Linked DNA regions of Homo sapiens: region 1 is linked to region 2. The links are contacts of gene promoters, found by promoter capture Hi-C in blood cells and fetal thymus (Javierre and others, 2016). All regions are on one chromosome and are shown on one strand. The core of a region is centred on a gene start or on the middle of the fragment in contact, and the rest is flanking DNA. Distances in the headings are between cores, read along the strand shown. Region 1 holds the start of COPS4 (COP9 signalosome subunit 4). Region 2 overlaps ENOPH1 (enolase-phosphatase 1).

Evidence for each region. Contacts are between HindIII fragments. The CHiCAGO score rates a contact against its expected background, and 5 or more counts as called.
Region 1: the fragment with the promoter of COPS4 here is called in contact with a fragment that was not itself captured in region 2 in 4 of 17 cell types (total B cells, total CD8 T cells, fetal thymus and 1 more); the score reaches 7.9 in total B cells.

Annotation. Positions count from the first base shown.
Region 1 is chr4:83,032,549-83,036,780 of GRCh38, reverse strand. COPS4 (COP9 signalosome subunit 4) reads right to left here and starts at 1,598. Exons shown (of 10, transcript NM_016129.3): 1 at 1,483-1,598. The coding sequence starts at 1,556. RefSeq lists enhancers at 1,109-1,168, 710-1,215, 1,229-1,288, 1,329-1,378, 1,479-1,828 and 2 more. The HindIII fragment of the contact is 6,632 bases long and covers 1-4,232 here.
Region 2 is chr4:82,460,234-82,464,452 of GRCh38, reverse strand. It overlaps ENOPH1 (enolase-phosphatase 1), which reads right to left. Exons shown (of 6, transcript NM_021204.5): 6 at 3,276-4,219. Among named protein-coding and RNA genes, the nearest start is that of ENOPH1, 32 kb to the right of the region's middle. The HindIII fragment of the contact is 638 bases long and covers 1,085-1,722 here.

The DNA.
Region 1 (4,232 bases), core at 349-2,848, 570 kb before region 2:
ATCCATATAAAAATTACAAGCAGAAAGGATTGAGCCATGAAGACATATTTAACTTATTTCCAACCCATACAATAAGTGAATATATATTTACTGACAGCTTAATAGTAACAACAACAATCTTACCGCACTTTCTATATGTCAGGTACTGTTCTACGTGATATAAGTGTGGTAAGTATATATGCACACACATACTCATCTTGTCCTCAGATAATGTCAGACAAGAATAAGTCCTATTATTATCTTCATTTTCCTGAGTGGGAAAATGCAGCACAAAGTAGTTAAGCCCAAAATATACGGCTGAATTTCCCACTGATAAAAGTAGATTACGTTTGCCACCAGAGAAAAGGCAGCCTAGCCTACTTAAAACAGTCAGAATTTCAATGACCAGGTTAGAACAGGTGTATCCCATTAATATACATCAAAGTGATTTCAGCTGTCAGGATGTAAACATTAAGATCAACTTGAGAGGCATACTTTATTTACTTATTTATTTACGGAGACGGGTGGCGGCGGGGGGGGGGGTCTCACTATGTTGCCCAGGCTGGTCTAGAACTCCTGCCCTCAAGTGATCCTCCCTCTCAGATCTCTCAGGCCTCAAGTGATCTCAGCCTCTCAAAGTGCTGGGATTACAGGCGTGAGCCACTGCACCCGGCCTAGAGAGGCATACTTTAAACAGAAAGCATGTTCATTACAAAAGAGAAATGCTGTGACATCTACAAAGAGAAAATGAACAATATACGTCTACCTACCTATGCTTAATACTGTTGACAACTGCTTGCAGAACAGGCACGTCACACATTTTAACTTGGAGTGAACCTAAGCATTCTATATAAATTTCGACAAAATTCAGATTCCTGCAAACATCACTACTGTAGACATCCTGACCCACGATATGAGCACATTCCGCCTATGTGCCATCAGAGTTGGTGGCAGAGAAAATACCCGAAACACAAGGACCCACAGAAGACAGTCTGAATGGTCTGGACGACATGACAGCGGCCATACCGCCTCAACCTCAGCCAGCCCCAAGAAGCCATCTCCCCGAAAAACGCAGCATCAAGGCCCCAGAATATACATTTCTCTGAATCAAAAAAAAAGAGGAGGAAGGTCCAAAGAGAGGCCAGATTCGGTGTGAGGCCGGCCAGCGATGGGAAGAGGTACCAGGGAAGGCTACTAAGGCCAGGGTAGCAGTCGTCTCTCAGACCGCTGTTCCAAAATCCTAAGGGACCAGAAAGATTCTATCAAGAACTGAACAAGCTGACAATCATTTCAAGTCTATAGCCTCGAAGGCCCCTGCACAAGGTCCCCTCCAGCTTTCTGCTTCTCCCAACATTTGCCTCCCCAGCCGACCTCAGGCCCGCCCCCTTGGACGTCAGGCCGGCTCCTAGCTTCACGCCCAAGAGCCGTGGCCAACCTAAGGAGATTAAGGCTGTGGCTTTCTTTCCCCACCTCTGTACTCCCGCGTTCCTGGGAAATACTCACTTGCCAGCCAGATCTTTATGAGAGCCGCTCGAATTCATGAGCTGGGCCAAATCCTGTCGCACGGCTGCCGCCATCTTTCTCCCAGCTCAGCGGTGGATGCGGGGGCCTCTGGCAGCCAAAAAGAAAACGAGTGTGGTCCTCCAGAGTGCAGCCAGAGGGAACCTGAGATGCTACAGAGTAGCGTCTGTGTGGGCCAGAGCGTCGGGTGTGGGAGCCTGGGCTAGCTCCGCCCCCAGGGTTGAGTGATGCGGAGCTCCACTCCTCAGGTCTGAGGCCTGCCCAGGTCTCTCCTACAGGCTCTGGCTCTCACGCTTGGACTTTGGATTGGCTGATGAACTCCAGTAGTGAGTCTCTGGTGTAACTCCAATGAGTAGCCGGTACATAAAACGACTGCGTTTTCGCAAAGTTCCGTTTCTCACGTCTGTGGTTTACCGTCCTTCGATCTTTCAGGCAGCGCTTAAACTGCCTGTGGTAAAGAATGAGTTTTGTTTCCGATTCACCACAGAAGATACTTTTTAGAAATACAATTAAAATGTCCCTATTCCTCCTCCCACTCCGTGCACTTTATAATGGTTGGTCAGACATTCCAGTTTGTCCAGTACAAAGCGATTTTCCCTCTGTCGTCCTGGAGTAATGATTAATATCCCCCCTTTCGGCCGGGCGCGGTGGCTCACGCCTGTAATCCCAGCACTTTGGGCAGCCGAGGCGGGCGGATCACGAGGTCAAGAGATCGAGGCCATCCTGGCTAACACGGTGAAACCCCGTTCTCTACTAAAAATACAAAAAAATTAGCCGGGCGTAGGTGGTGCACCCCTGTAGTCCCAGCAACTCGGGAGGCTGAGGCAGGAGAATGGCGTGAACCCGGGAGGCGGAGTTTGCAGTGAGCCGAGATCGCGCCACTGCACTCCAGCCTGGGAGACACAGCGAGACTCGGTCTCAAAAAATAATAATAATAATAATAACATCCTCCCTTTCATTCTAGAAACCGTTCCATTTCAATGGAAGATTATATGGTCGCCTGCGTTTGTATAACATTCAATACTCATGTATTCTTATAGAATTTCTGCAAATACAAGCAAATATTAATAAAATAAAATTTTACCTCTCACAAGCAACACCACATAATTGTTCTGCCTTGGTTTTTTTTTTTTGCACTTTTCCTGGTACTGTGGTTTGAAATAATTGTCTTCTCCAAAACTCATGTTGAGGGCTGGCGCCGTGGCTCACGTCTGTAATCCCAGCACTTTGGGAGGCCGAGGTGGACGGATCACCTGAGGTCGGGAGTTCGAGACCAGCCTGACCAACATGGAGAAACCCCGTCTCAACTAAAAATACAAAAATTAGCTGGGTGTGGTGGCACGTGCCTGTAATCTCAGCTACTCGGGAGGCTGAGGCACGAGAATCACTTGAAGCTGGAAGGCGAAGGTTACGGTGAGCCAAGATTGCACCACTGCACTCCAGCCTGGGCAACAAGAGGGAAATTCCGTCTCAAAAAAAAAAAAAAAAACAAACAACTCATGTTGAAACTTCATCTTTAATGTGGCAGTATTTAGAGGTGGGCCTTAAATAGGTGATTGGATCATGAGGGCAAAACCCTTGATCTATTCATGGATTAATGGGTTGTCATGGGAGAGAACATGTGGCTTTATTAGAAGAGGAAGAGACCTGAGCTAGCATGTTAGGAAGGTCACTCCCTTGCCATGTGATACCCTGTGCTGCTTCTGAACTCTAGCAAGTCCCCACCAGCAAGAAGGGTCTCATTAGATGTGGCCCCTTGACCTTAGACTTCTTGGCCTTCATAACTCTAAGATATAAATTCCTTTTCTTTATAAATTACCCAGTTTCAGGTATTCTGGTATAAGCAACAGAAAACAGACTAAGACAGCTGGACATCTTACCAGCTGTCCAGTCTTTCAAAATCACTCTTTTTGGAGCTAGAGGATATTACACAGTGAGAGTATGCCTTAGTTTATTTAATCCTTATAGGACATGTTATTTTTAATCAATGCGATGAATAACCTTTGCATACATTATATATGTACAGGTAGAACACATTACCAGAAATGAGGCAAAGGATAGACATACAATTTTGGTAGATATTGCCAAATTGCATTTTATAGGAATGGTATCATTTTGCCTTCCTACCAGAAATATATAGGGGTGCAGCTTCCTACAGCCTTGACTACAAAGGATGTCAAACTTTTGGATTTTTGCCATCTTGATGTGTGATAAATGGCATATTCCCTCTATTGGGAAAGAGAAAGAGAAGAATACCTGAAGAAGGAATCCCTTTTAAGAATGTGTATTAGTCTGTTCTCAGCCAGGCGTGGTGGCTCATGCCTGTAATACCACCACTTTAGGAGGCCAAGGCAGGTGGATCACCTGAGGTCAGGAGTTCGAGACCAGCCTGCTCAACATGGTGAAACTCTTTCTCTACTAAAAACACAAAAAATTAACCAGGCGTGGTGGCGGGTGCCTGTAGTCCCAGCTACTTAGGAGGCTGAGGCAGGAAAATCGATTGAACACAGGAGGCGGAGGCTGCAGTGAGCTGAGATCGTGCCACTGCACTCCAGCCTGGGTGGCAGAGTGAAATCTCAAAAATAAAATAAATAAAAAAAGAATGTATATTAGTCTGTTCTCACACTGCTATAAAGAACTACCTGAAACTGGGCAATTTGTAAAGAAAAGAGATTTAGGCCGGGCATGGTGGCTCACGCCTGTAATCCCAGCACTCTGGGAGGCCGAGGCGG
Region 2 (4,219 bases), core at 154-2,653:
AGCAATTGATAAATTTGAATAGTTCCTTCTTTAATGGGCTCCCCTGCCACTCTCCTGGTTTTCCTTCCTCAGTGCCCAATACTTTCCCATCTCCTTTGCTGGTTTCTTTGCTTGGCTTGACCTCTAGTGTTGGAGCCTACGGGCTGTTTAGGCTCTCTTCTCTATCAACAGACTCTTCCTAAGCAACCCCATCCCATGGCTTTTAATAGCATCTCTATGCCAGTGAACTCTCAAATCTGATCTCCAGCCAGGCCAGCATTCTGAACTCTAGACTTATATCCAACTGCTCTTCGGTCATGTTGACATCAGGATCTACATTGGCTTTACATTATTATCAGCAGCACTGCTATTTTTCCAGTAGTATCATCTATCCAGTTGCTTAAGCTAAAAATGTAAGAGTTACCCTTTCAAATCCAATCAATCAATAAGTGGTCACTGTCATGTCTAAAACCTATTCTGAATCTTTCCACTTCTATTTCTGCTTTTACCACCCTAAGGCAAGCCACCACCATCCCTTACCTTCATTACTACAACAGCCTTCTCAGACCCAGTAGATTGACTCTCTCAAGTGCCAATTTTACCCCCTAATTGGAGAAGAGATGGAAGTGTTCTGTTTGGAGAGGTTGCAGCAATGGGGCCTGGCATTCCAGAGTCTGGCCAGCGTCGTGGGCATGAGCTACAGTGGCAATGGTAGCAGGCTTCCTGAGCTAACCACTGTGAGGTGTCCTCTAACTCCACAGTCCAGTGGTAGTTGCCCTGACTCTTCTCCCAGTTCTTCCACTGATGTTGTATACACCTAACTCCTTGTGATTTTTGCCTGCAGCACTCAACCCTGATATACTTAACTCACCTTCCTGCATGCAGTCATGCCCACTTATAAACCATTCTCCATTCCATACAGAATTCCTTAAATATGTAAACCACTCAGGTTATCTTCTGCTCAAAGTCCTCCAGGGGCTTTTTACCATACTTAGAATACAATTCAAACTTCTTACTGGAGTACAAAGCACTATCATCTGGCTTCAGCCCACTTCTCTGATGGTATCCAGCCACTGGGCTCTCAATTCCTGAAAAAGGCCAAGCTTTGCCCTAGATCTGTGCTATGCTGTTCCATCTGCATGGAACACCAGTTCTCCTAGTTTCCTACATGTCTTCCATGTCATTTAGATTAGATGTCACCTTCTCATCACCCCTCCTGTAAAGTTATTCTACCCTGTGTTCTCTGCAGAGCGCTTACTAGTATCTAATTTTTTCTTGTCTTAGTCACCATTGTTTCTCTTCTCGAAAAATGTATGCACAATGGGAGTAGAGAGGAACTTTGTCCCCTCATAGCAGATCTGGGATGCAAGGTAAATGCTTAATAAATATTTAAGGAATAAATTTGGGTTGAATTTGTAAGGTAGAAATTTTACTTCTGTCAGTTACTCCAAGTGTTTTAGTAAAAACTCCACGTTATTCTTAAATATTAGGTTGAGGATAATATCACTTTGCCATCTGGGCACAGGTGGTAGGTTAACAAACTTTTGGAATATATTATACTCAACTTTGTACTCGTGGGAATAAAAAAAGCCCTGAAAACAATCCCTTTTTAACACTGCCGCTGGAAAAAGGGGCTAAAAATCACTAATTTTTTATTGAGGAAAAGGAATATTAGATAGTTGGATTTCATTCAGGATTACTGCCATTTTTTCCAAACTACTCCAACTCTTGCAACATCAAGCTTTTGGCTTGTAAGGATAAACAAAATATAGTTTTCTCTCTCTTAGCTCCATCTGCTGTATTTGGCGGGCGACGGGGCGGGGGTTGGGGGAGGGGGGGAGGAGGGGTGGAGCCTCACACTTCATATCAAGTCTGGAGAAACAGCACCATCTGCTGGGGAAAGGCTGCCGTGCATCTGCCCTGGCAATAAGCCAGTGGCTTTCAACCTTTCCTTGTGCAACTACACATTTGACATTCTGCGTAGCAACTAAAACCCGCTTTCCAGACCAAAAAGAAGTCCTGCTACTCCAGAAATGTTGATAAGATTAGAGAATCTTCTGTTAAGGGCTTCTCTTCTAAAAAACCAACCTGGGCTTTGACCCAAGATTAGAAATCAGCGCCACTGTAGGAAAGAGAACAACAGAGGTACATCTGGATTAATAAACAGGAATAAAAAGAGCCACAACTTTAAGACGCTTTTGTCCTCCATATTCTCTGCAAACAAGAGGCTGAGGCCTTTGTCCTCTTTTTGGAAGTTCCAGAGGTTTTTTGCCTTCCTTCCCCTCATAAGGACTATGAATTCATCTGACTTCATCTTCTAGCTCATTATCCACATTAAAAAAAGTTTTTTAATGATGCATAACTGTGCATATTTATGGGGTACACTGTGGTGTTTCAATACATGTATACATTGTGTATCACTGCTTACATTCTTAGATAGGTATTTTTCCTCTCTTGCCAATCTACTTTATCTTTCAAATTCTTCCTACGACCTTTCTCCATCATTTGTGAATGGTTTTCCTAGGATCTAAAAACGATTCCATTCAACTAGTTTTTCCCTTACTTTGCAAAATAAATCTGATACTTCAATTTTCTCTTAATTCCTGAAATCTATTGATTTTCTGTCCTCCTTACTCAGTGTACATGGGTAGTAAAATGCCTCTCCACCTCAATCCTTTGCTGGCTAGATGCTGTGTGCCTTCCTTTTTATTCAATTCCTTTCTAATCTAGATCCTAGTGCCTAATCTTCTCATTTCTTCATTTTCCAACTACTCCTTAAATAACATTAAGATATACCCCTTTCTGCCATCTGCCTATGAGCTTTCCAAAAAAGGTATTAAGTTCATCCTTTTATTACTATTTGTGGTTTTATCATCATTTACAAATTATTCCCATTTCTAAGATGTACCTAAACTCATTTCCTTTCTTTTTTATTCATATATTTTCATAGACCCTAGATTTCTTAATTGGCTACTAGATCAAAATTATCAACATAAAATCTTTTATATCCCCTGTCCTCTCATAGTTCTAAGACTTCTTTTTCCTTATTCAAAGCATTTCTAAAATTGCTCCTCCAGGATTCGTGAGTTTTTCTTGATTAGTTAGGAGAGTAACTCCCTCCTTCAAGCATTACCTTAGAGACCTCAAAGTTAAGATTCTCAAAAATATAAGGAACTCCACTCATATCCTGAATGCTTACTATCCAAATGGAATAGTAACCTTATATGTATACATAACTCAAATAATAACCATGAATTGCCACCGGCACTCCATTAAAACACACACATGATACACGATTAAGATAAGAGCTAAATATTCTTGTTTTTCAGTTTCTCTTTTGCTATGGCGGCATGTGGATAGAGTTCAGGAACCTATATAAAACTGAGTGAAGAAAAAATGCTTTTATTAATCACAACATGAAATTAACATGACATCGTATTAGAATTAAACCAGGATAAATACTGCTGTTATAAAATTTACATTTCTCACATCCATTCCAGAGGAAAATCTTACATATTAGGGCTCATCTTAATGTTATGGACTGATTTCAGTAAAACTTTTTAAATAGTAAATAGCAATTAACGTATTCTCAAACTGTGCTAAGTAGTTAGAAAGGCAACTATAAAATCTATAATGATAACACGTGGCAGGATTAGAACTGTTCTGTTAAACATTAAGAACCACATCTCTGTTTTAGATGTTACCTCAGTGCACCTTTTTCACTGGTAAGGCAACTGCTTGCTGTGGGTGCCACAATGATTACCAAGTTTCTTCTTAAGTAAAAGACACTTGTTTGATCAAGACTCAAGTGAGTTTTCTTTCCCAATTTTGTTCTTTTGAAGCAGAAGGAAATACCTTGGTCTTTGATATATATAAGGAGGCAAATATGAAATACAGCTGTTATAATCTTCTAAATCACAAGGGCAATGAATTATTCATTTTCTTTGAAAATATTCAGTCTTTGAAATATTTCATTTTTAAAATAACAAGGCTTCTGAATAATTTCTCAAAACTAGCTTTCCATTTTAGTACACGATTTGATAAACATAGCACATTAGATAGGTATTTAGCAATTTCTTCTACCAACTACACTTTGCCCTCACTAAGGGTTAGAGTATGATTTGAAACAATTTCTACATATAAAGCATCTTTAAATAAGTTTTGTGTTCACTGAACTGAGACTTCTTTCACTTATGTACCTATGGAAGTTAATCTGAGCATACACATATATACATACTTG